Linked DNA regions of Homo sapiens: region 1 is linked to region 2. The links are contacts of gene promoters, found by promoter capture Hi-C in blood cells and fetal thymus (Javierre and others, 2016). All regions are on one chromosome and are shown on one strand. The core of a region is centred on a gene start or on the middle of the fragment in contact, and the rest is flanking DNA. Distances in the headings are between cores, read along the strand shown. Region 1 has its middle 3.0 kb from the start of GABRR3. Region 2 holds the start of OR5K2 (olfactory receptor family 5 subfamily K member 2).

Region 1 (5,028 bases), core at 167-2,666, 460 kb after region 2:
GTGGCAATGGAAATACAAAGGGCAGGAAAATGCAAAAGTAGCTCTGAAGCAAAAAACGAAGAAAGATTTTGAAAGGGAGTAATTAAAGATGACTCAAAATCTCAATCCTGGAAAACAGGGACCTTATTGGTAATCTTAATGAAATTCATAACATTGGAAGATCATACTACATTAATAAAGATGCATGAGATTGATAGCTGATATTAATTTTGTCAATTATGGTATCTTCAATGTATCAAACATTGTGCTAAACATACAGTCTCATAAATTCTGACTTTAACCTTAAAAGATAGGTCCTAGTATTATTCCTCTTAACTATATATAAAGTAACTGACTCAACAAAAAATCTTAGGTCATTTTCAATGTTCAGACAAGTAGTAAATGGAAGAATAGATGTTTGTACCCACAAAAACTGACACCAAATATCCCAATAAAGATTATCGCTATTGTCTCTTCTTAACCACTGTGTTTTATTGCTTCCTCAGGGGTCTCAAAAGTCACCTACATACATGTGCTTAATGAATACAGAAGAGGAAATTGAAGTCCAGGAAGTTTAAGAAACTTTTTAAAAATCATGCAGTAAGTACCATATCCAGTCCCAGAGCCATGTGCCCTAGTGTTTTATTTAGTGCCCTTTAGAAACTTTACTCATAACAGGTACTTCATTCTAATAGAAAGCTTATTTTTCTACAATGTTCACCTCTGTCTCTTACCGTTCCCACAAACAAAATGCTGTTCTTAGGTGTAGGTAAAAAGTGAAATCTTAAAAATAAATTAGTGTTCAATCAGAGAAACCAATAAACCTCATTAGTCAATTATTCGAGGTAAATAATTGCATTTTCCTCAATAACGGGGTGTGTGGGTTTTTTATCTGAATCATTTGGTATTATATCATTAATCTTTTCAGTTCATTCTGCCAGTATTGGTAAGTGAAAATTATTCACTACAAGTGCTGAATAATTTGCATTTACCAATACTACATAAGAAAGTTTTCCTAAGGAGGCAAATTCGAGACAATAGTAATTTGGATGAGAATGTGTATCCTATGCTTCCATCTAGTGGTGGTCTTGCGCTATTACACGATGATGAAGACTGCTTTGCTTTAGTGTCATCCTCTTGCCTGTAAAACAGAGCAAGATTCTTCAGGTGTCCTCACTCGTATCACAGCTGATTCTGTATGCCAGGAAGGATGTGATAAGAGACTGAAACAAGGGTCGTGGGGGGGACGATGGTCTACTGGGTATGAAAAAACGATGATCTACTGGTTATCTGGTAATTCTGGGAACTGGAGAGGAAACAGGATTTCTGAGTGAGAGCAGGGTTTTTTGGAAGGATAGCAAATGCCCCCTACTGGCTGCTCTAGGCATGGCCAGTTATATTTCCAATGCATCAAAGCAAAACAGTTACGCGCAATTTGATGACGGGGACAAACTCAGAGAAATGCGTTGTTAGGTGATTTCCTCATTGTGCAAACATTGTAGAGTATACTTACACAAAACTCTATGGTCTAGCCTACTGCACACCTATGCTATATGATATTACTCCTAGGCCACAAACCTATACAGCACGTTATTATACCAAATACTATAGGCAATTGTAACACAATGGTACGTATTTGTGTATCTAAACATGTATAAACATAGACAAAATAGAAAAGGTTCAGTTAAAATGCAGTATAAAAGATGAATTGTATAGGGCACTTACCATGAATGGAGTTAACAGGACTGAAAGTTGTTCTGGGTGAGTTAGTGAGTTGTTCTGGGTGACTGAGTGTGAAAGCCCAAGACATGACTGTACACTACTGTCAACTGTACACTTAGGCTATACTAAATTTATACAAAATATTTTTCTTTCTTCAATAATAAATTAACCTTAGCTTATTGGAGAACTGCAGTCATATATGTGGTCCATCACTGACCAAAACGTCGTTGTGCAGCACATGACTGTAAATATGAAAACTAAATTAGTTGATCACTTAACCTCTCTAGTCCTAGCTTCCTCTGCATAAAAGAGAGCAGGAGAGACATTAAATGTAGTCTAAATGATTTCCAAAAGTCTTTCCCTATTAAGATTTTATGACTCTACAATTTGCAAATCAAGATATTTTGCCTAGATGACATCCTGCAGACACAGTGGGAAATTTATAGAAGCTTGGAATTTGTTGTTGTTGCTGTTGTCAGATCCAGTCTAAATAAGACCTTAGCTTTTCTTTTGTTTTCTCTTTATAGGCAAAATAATGGCTACATACCCCAAGATTGGCGACACAGCCATCCTTTCCAAATTTTCTCTTTATGTCGCTGCCAAAGAAATAAAAACTGGCTGACTGACATCATCAGAGTGGAAGAAGAGTAAACAGGAGACAATTTATGCAAGGGAGAGCTTAAACTACTACGAAATTCTCCAGTGACCCTGTGATTCATTTTGTTTCCTGGTAGTTACCACTTTCTAGTTCTGACAGATGTGCTTTTCTGCTTTTTTTTTTTTTCTTAAGAAGCTTACTGAGCTTGCAAAGGGAAGCTCTAAAGGAATAAGGTTAAGGAGCTAACTCAGCATCAACAGAGGCAGATGCCTTCTTGTAATTGAACTAAAACCCTTAGACTTTCTGTAAGTCAACTCTCTCTAGTGTAAGCCATTGCCTTATTTTTATTTTTATGCAGACCATTTCCCACTTAAAATTCATCATCAAAAAACAAACTGCTTTTATTTCTTCCTTAATGTTTATAGCGATATAGATAGTCTAGCAAAGATTATTCAGTAAAGAGGTCAGACAGATTCTCATCATGATTCATCCCTGCGATGCAGAAGGAGACACCAGGGCATCCTAACATAATTTAAGTGACAGTGAGGAGGCATATGACTTGACAGATATTTCCGAAAAATAAGTGCCCCAAATAGCTCCACTGAGTCCTGTAAAGAGGACATCTTCTATTCCAGTGCTTCATTCCTTCAGATCAAAGACCACTTCGTGAAGTCTCCTCTTCAATCTTGCTTATTCTTTATCAGCTACCAATATTTCTTTGCGAACGTAAAAGTTTAGCAGTCATCAAAGGTTGTCTCAAGATGATAGGACACAGAATTTTGGTAAGGAGAATGTGCAAAGCACCAATTTGCCTATAAATGAGAATCTCACTGATTTACCTATGAATGAGAACTGGCTGTCATGGAGGAGTACTATTTTGGGAGAATGTAAGTATCGTGGTTTTCTTTTGTTTTGTTTTGTTTTGTTTTGTCTTGTTTTGTTTTAAAATGGGATCTGAGATCAAATAAGTTTGAGAGACACAGAATTCAGCAGAACAAAGCAGGCTTTTTTTTTTTCAACTGAAGCCTTGAACGTGTTAATATTCATTCATTATTTAAGAAATATTTACTAATACCAACTATACTTCAAAGATAATTATAAGTGTTTGGGATGCCTCAGGGAACAAAACAAAGATCACTTCCTTGCAGAGCTTACATTCTAGCCGGATAAGACAGATTATGAACAATAAACATAATGTAAATTATATAAAACATGCTAAGCAGGATGAAAGGTAGATTGGTAACACAGGTTGTAGGAGGAAAGAAAGAATACGGTATTTTTAAAAAGAGTGGTCAGGGTATACTTCATTCAATAGATGACATTTTAGCATACATTTGAATTTGTTAAGGGAGTTAGCCATATAGATATCCAGATGAACAATATGTCAGGCAAGGGTGACAACCAGTGCAAAGGCCCTGGGGTAAGAGTGTGACCCCTAACAGAGTAATAAAATGTATAATGTTTCCCAAACTCATTTAGTACATAACAATTTTTCACAAAATGCCTTCAGTGTAGCCAAGAAATACTTTGGGAAATGTTAGTGTAGATGTTGCTTACTAAGTGAAGAGGGGACGAGGTAATAGATAGTGCTAGGGCCGAGGGGTTGGTGCCCTGGATCTCGTAAGAGCACTGAGGTGGAATGTACTGAAACAAACTTTGACCACAGTGCGGTCTTCCAACAACCAAAGTGACAGTAGCTTAAGATGGGCAACTTTTCCTACATTTCTTCCATTGGCTCTTCAAAGAAGGCTTACTGGCTCCGAAATACCTGAAGAAAATGCTTCAACGTTTCTAAACATTACAGAAATTAAAATTACAATACTGATTGAATTACTTAACATTTAAAAGTCTGATAATACCAATGTTAAAAAATATTTTAAGAAATAAGAACTCTCATTCACTGCTAGTGGGGAAGTAAATTGGTACAAGCACTTTGATGAGCAATATGATTGTGCTTAGTAAATTTGAAGGTGTGAAAATTATTTGTCCTAGCCATTTTACTTTTAGGTATTTATCCTAAAGAAACACTTACACATGTGTACAAGAAAATATTTATAAGAATTTATTGCAGGATTGTTTATAATAGAAAAATAAGAAACAATGCCCATCAACAAAAATACGAATAAATGCAATGTTATGCATCCATACTGAAGTGCCATATAGCAGTTAAAATGAATTAACTAGAGGCACATTTATCAACATAATAAATCCCTAAGCATTAAGTTGAAAGAAAAAGTAGCTTTTAGTAGTAAAAGTAGAATATGACACCACTTATATAAAGTTTTAAAACATGCAGAAGTTTGTACATTATTTATAGATACATACATATACAATAATAGTATAACTGCATATGATTATAAACACTAAATCGAGCCTAAGAAGAGAAGCAAGGATTTATTACATCATTCTGTATATTTGTAATCTTTTATATTAAAATATATTTTAAAGAGAAAAGACATGCTTAAGAAACATAGGAGAAGGTTTTAATGCATGGGCTAAAAGAAGCCATAACCCAAACCAAAAGAAATAAGTATGATTAAGCAATTACACAAAATAGAAGGTGTCAAGGACACAAATCAATTTGAGGAAATTTAAGAATTTCTCTCACAACACTATATTTCTGGGAAGAAAATGGCTTTCTTCCTAAGTCCTAGTAAAAAGGTCAACCGTTGCTGTGTTGCTCACCTTGTGCTATTCCAGTTGAAGAAGATTAATTTCAATGACATGAC
Region 2 (4,977 bases), core at 1,054-3,553:
ATTCATGATTTAGGGAATTATATCTAGAAATATATCTGTTTTCTACTCCCTTTTCTATATAGACTCAGCATGCTGATTTTCCATGTGATGCCAGCCTCTGGTGGCTGGCTAGCTTGAGGCCCACTGCAATCTGACAACTGCCTTCTGGAAATTTAGATGTGACCACAGAGCATCAAGAGAGGAGGTGGAAGGGAGAATTTTTCTGTTACTTGTTATGGGTCCTCCTTGTTCCAGAAGTTAGTAATTAAAATAATGGCAATGTTCTATTATTTAAGAAGATGAAAAGAGTGGTGTCTTGGTCATTAATATGTCTCAGCATCTAGAACAGTGCTTGCACATAGCAGAATCTCAATAAATATATGTAGAGTGAATAATTGGAAAGTATCTCTTTAATGATGTCACATAAGATTATTAGGTTCTATCCATATTAAACGACTTTAAGTTTTGCAATGGTGAAGGAATAAAAGAAAATATTTGAGATAAGCCCTGTCCACAGTCCCACAATCACACTTTTTTACATGTCTGTATATAATATACCCAAAGGTTGTGTCTCCATTGTTTAACCCCTTCCTCACCTCTCAGGAATGGGCACAGAGAAGTTTAGCCTAACTCACTGACAATGAAGGCTCTTCAGATCTACATGAAGTTTGAAATGTTTGTCTAGAACTTTATGATATGGTATCTTTATGCATGTAGGTTTTGGAGTAAATAAAACTTAATGTAACCTATCTTGAAATTTGACATTCTGATTTTAATTATTTAAATGTTTAAATCATTTAACAACAACTTCTATTTGGAAATATAATATTCACTTTTATTGGCACAATCACTTCCTGACTACCTCATTCTAACTACAATAATGTCCCCCACATGCTATTACATTTTCTTCCTCAAAATTCACTTGCCATTTTTGTTGCTCATGGATATAAGTGAGTTCGTTGGTTGACTGTTCACATGATCTTAAACACTTAACTGTAATGCACATGTTGTAAGCTATAGAGTGGGCTGGTTATCAAAGCCCGCTTTGTAAATGGTATGGCTTTTTATATTTGTAACTGGTAGTTTTGCTGTTGTTTTGGGTGTTGATCATCATTGATACTAACACAGTCTATAGGCATGGTGGCTTTCTACATTGCTGCTTGAGTGAATTCAATGTCTGCATGTGCTTTTAAATTCTGAGTAAATATTTAGCACAGTTCACTCCTTTCCATGAATTTTCCCTGTCACATATTTCTGCTTAATTTGATTGTATTTTGATATGTTTTAATATTTTGTATACAATTAGTACACTTCCTCTGTGTAATTTTATTTAGAAGTTTTTTGAGCATTAAACCATTAAGCTAGGATAGATGTCATTTGTTCACACTTCCTTGAGATTTTATTTTCAGCAGAATTTTTCTTAAGACACTTATTACTTCCTTGTTTCTCAGACTATAAATGAAAGGATTTAGTAAGGGAACTACTATTGTAAATAAAATAGCAGCTGGTATATCATTACCTCCTTCTTCAAGCAAATTTGGTCTAATGTATAGGAAAAAAATAGATCCATAGAATAATGAAACTGATGAAAAGTGGGATGCACAAGTAGAAAAGGCTTTGGCCCTTCCCTCCTTGGATTTCATTCTGAAAATAGTAAGAAGAATATAGAGATAAGATATTAAGACACTACCTATGGTAAAGACTTGAACTGAACCTGAGAAGATGAATAGAACCAGTTCATTGATGAAAGGGTCAACACAGGAGAGTCTATACAAGGGAAGAGTATCACAGTAAAAGTGGTTGATGTGATTCAATCCACAGAAAACTAACCTAAATACAAGCCCTACATGAATCATGGAATGCAGATTTCCAGCTATGAAGGCGCCTGTGGTCATCTGAATGCAGAGTTTCTTGGACATCATGATGTGGTACTGCAGTGGGTTGCAGATGGCCACATAGCGGTCATAGGCCACTGCTGCCAGAAGAAAGCAGTCTGCAGTTTCCACAGTGCAAAGAAAATAAAACTGTACTGCACATTCATAGAGGGAAATCCTTTTGCCCTCAGAAAAGAAGTTCTCTAACATTTTGGGGGTAATAGCACAGGCACAGCAAGAATCCACAAGAGCCAGATTTCCCAGAAAGATGTACATTGGTGTGTGAAGCCGACAGTGTGTAAATATCAGTGCCACCAAACTAATATTCCCCACCACGGTGATCAGATAGATGGCAAAGAACACCACAAACAGCAGAGTCTTCAGCTCAGGGTGATCTGTAAATCCTGTGAGGATAAACTCATTTTTCATGGTATGATTTTCTTCAACCATTCCTGACCTCTCTGAAAAAAATTGTAGAGGAATAAGGCACTAATTAATAATATGCCACAATTATTGACGTCTCTTTGGCTTAAAAGAAGGAGAGCATCTTCCACAATGTCTCCTCATCTTGCCTGGAATTTGGTGCATGCCCAATTCACTGCGAGAATGAGTCTCCTGAGGCTACTACTTTTGTGGCTATTGGTTGAACATGTTTCTATCATATTTTGAAAAAATATCTGATTGGGTGCACAAGGATGACTTTTGAGGTCTTGAGAGAAATATTGAGAGCACAGAACTTCTCCATATAGTATAGGTAAAGCTGATTCGTAATTTAAGTGTCAGTAATTGGTACCAGTGTTCCCGATTTCAATGTTTGTATATGTAGTGGTTAACAATGTGTTTAAAAGACTATTTTTGTATGCTAATGTTAACAGCAGCATTACCTTCAATAACCAAAACGTAAAAACAACCCAAATGTTCATGGACAGGTGAATGGATAAATAAATTGTGGTGGAATATTACTCAGTCTTAAAAAGGATTGAAATTCTCATACATGTTACAACATGGATTAACCTTGAGGACATAAGGCTGATTGAAATAAGCCAGACACAAAAGGACAAATATTGTATGATTCCAATTACATGAGAAAGCTAGAGTAGTCGAACTTACAGAGACAGAAAGTTGAATGGTAGTTGCCAGGGGAAGGGGTCTACTGGGAGCTATTGTTTAATGGGTACAGTGTTTCTGTTTAGGAAGATGAAAATGTTCTAGAGATAAATGATGGTGATCATTCCACAACAATATTAATGCACTTAATGCTACTGAACTGTACACTTAAATATGACTAAAATGATAAAAGTTATGTTGTGTATAATTTACCCCAATAAAAATATTTTTAAAATACTATTTTCATCTGCCTATTTCAGCAAATTACTATCTCCAATACTAGTGGAATATACACTTAAAAATAAGATGCTCTGGGGGAAAAGGGAATATTTATAAGATATTTATATTCCTGGGAGTTGGGGAGTAAAAGTGTTATGGATGGAAGCTGGGAGAAAAAACAAAACACTGCATTTAAAAAGTCTGGTGAGCACAGTGGCTTATGCCTGTAATCCCAGCACTTCAGGAGGCTGAGGAGGGAGCATCACTTGAATCCAGGAGTTCCAGACCAGCCTGGGCAACATAATGAGGCCCTGTCTCTTAAAAAAAAAAATAAAGTATATAAAATTACCAGGGCATTGTGACATGCTCCTGTAGTGCCAGCTACTGGGGAGGCTGAGGTGAGAGGATTCATTGAGCCTGAGAGATGGGGGCTGCAGTGAGCCATAATAGCATCACTGCACTCCAGCCTGGGTGACACAGCGAGACCCTGTCTCAAAAAAACCAAACCAAAACCAAAAAGCCTCCTATGTTACTAGTGATACTATGAGTAAAACTACTTATGTGCATAAAGAAATTAATGTTATTAAAAGCAATTGGAGAAATCCTGAGTTAAAAATATATTCGGTTGTCTAACTACGTATCAAAAAATTATGAATAAAATGTCAAACTGGGAGATTATCTGCAGTAAATTTGATAAAGTTTCTGTACCTTTGCTATAAGATCTCATACAAATGAGTAGGAATAATTACTAGAAAATAGGTAAAGCCCAGGAATAGAAAAATCTCAAAGAAAAAAACATTTTTAAGTAAATTAAAAATGTTTGATTTTATTACTAATCAGAGAAACACCATTCAGAAACACCTATGAAGCTATATTTATTTTGTATATGAAAATAAGATTAAAAAACTGATAATATTGAGCGTTATCTAGAATATAGTAAAATGGCAACCTAATTGCATTCCTGGTAAATGTATAAATTGGTGTAATCATTAGAAAATAATTTGGTAATAGATTAAAGAAACTCTTAAGGTTCATACCTTTTGATCAGTAAAAATAAATGCATCAAAAAGAAATAACTAAAACTTCAGAAAATATGTACATATAATGATGTTCATTATAATCTCACTCATAATAGTGAAAAATTTAAACACCTAAATGGTAACCAGTTAGTTAACCAGTATGATTAAATAAATGTGAACCATCCATATGAATGTATACTGACAAATATTTTAAATGGTGTTTAGCTATAATATCTATTATAATAAAACCGACATAAAAATATTGCATAAAAACAAAATAAAAAGTTTTACATGCAGTATAACCGGAATTACCAAATAAATATTTACATGTAAATGTAATAGAAGGTAGTACAGAAGCACATCAAAATGTTTTTACTAGTTTTTGCTATGTAATAAAAATTATTGGTCATTTTTTCCTCTTTATATTTTTCTCTATTTTAAATTTTCTATAATAACTGTTCCTCATATTCAGAAAACAATCTTAATTTTAAGTAAAGTGATGTACTCTTACATCTGCTATGTTTTATACTTTGATAAGTCCATAAAAATCATTGGGGATTCAACTAACGTTTTCTGCACTTTACAAATCTACAGTGGAGAACATCACAATGCACTTACTGAACAAGTGCCTGCTTCATTCTCATGGTGATGACATTGGTAGTTACAATAATTGTTTGCTGACAGTCTTGCACGTATCTCAAAACATTAAGGGATATGTTTGCATCTTGTGGTAATGCATTCTTACAGTCCTTTACCTATGAAAGCAGTATCACCTTAGT

Evidence for each region. Contacts are between HindIII fragments. The CHiCAGO score rates a contact against its expected background, and 5 or more counts as called.
Region 1: a fragment that was not itself captured here is called in contact with the fragment with the promoter of OR5K2 in region 2 in 3 of 17 cell types (total CD8 T cells, total CD4 T cells and naive CD8 T cells); the score reaches 6.7 in total CD8 T cells.

What each region holds. Positions count from the first base shown.
Region 1 is chr3:98,035,816-98,040,843 of GRCh38, reverse strand. No RefSeq gene overlaps it. Among named protein-coding and RNA genes, the nearest start is that of GABRR3, 3.0 kb to the right of the region's middle. RefSeq lists an enhancer at 1,205-1,499. The HindIII fragment of the contact is 1,472 bases long and covers 681-2,152 here.
Region 2 is chr3:98,495,007-98,499,983 of GRCh38, reverse strand. OR5K2 (olfactory receptor family 5 subfamily K member 2) reads right to left here and starts at 2,303. Exons shown (of 1, transcript NM_001004737.1): 1 at 1,353-2,303. The coding sequence starts at 2,303. The coding sequence ends at 1,353. The HindIII fragment of the contact is 17,047 bases long and covers 1-4,977 here.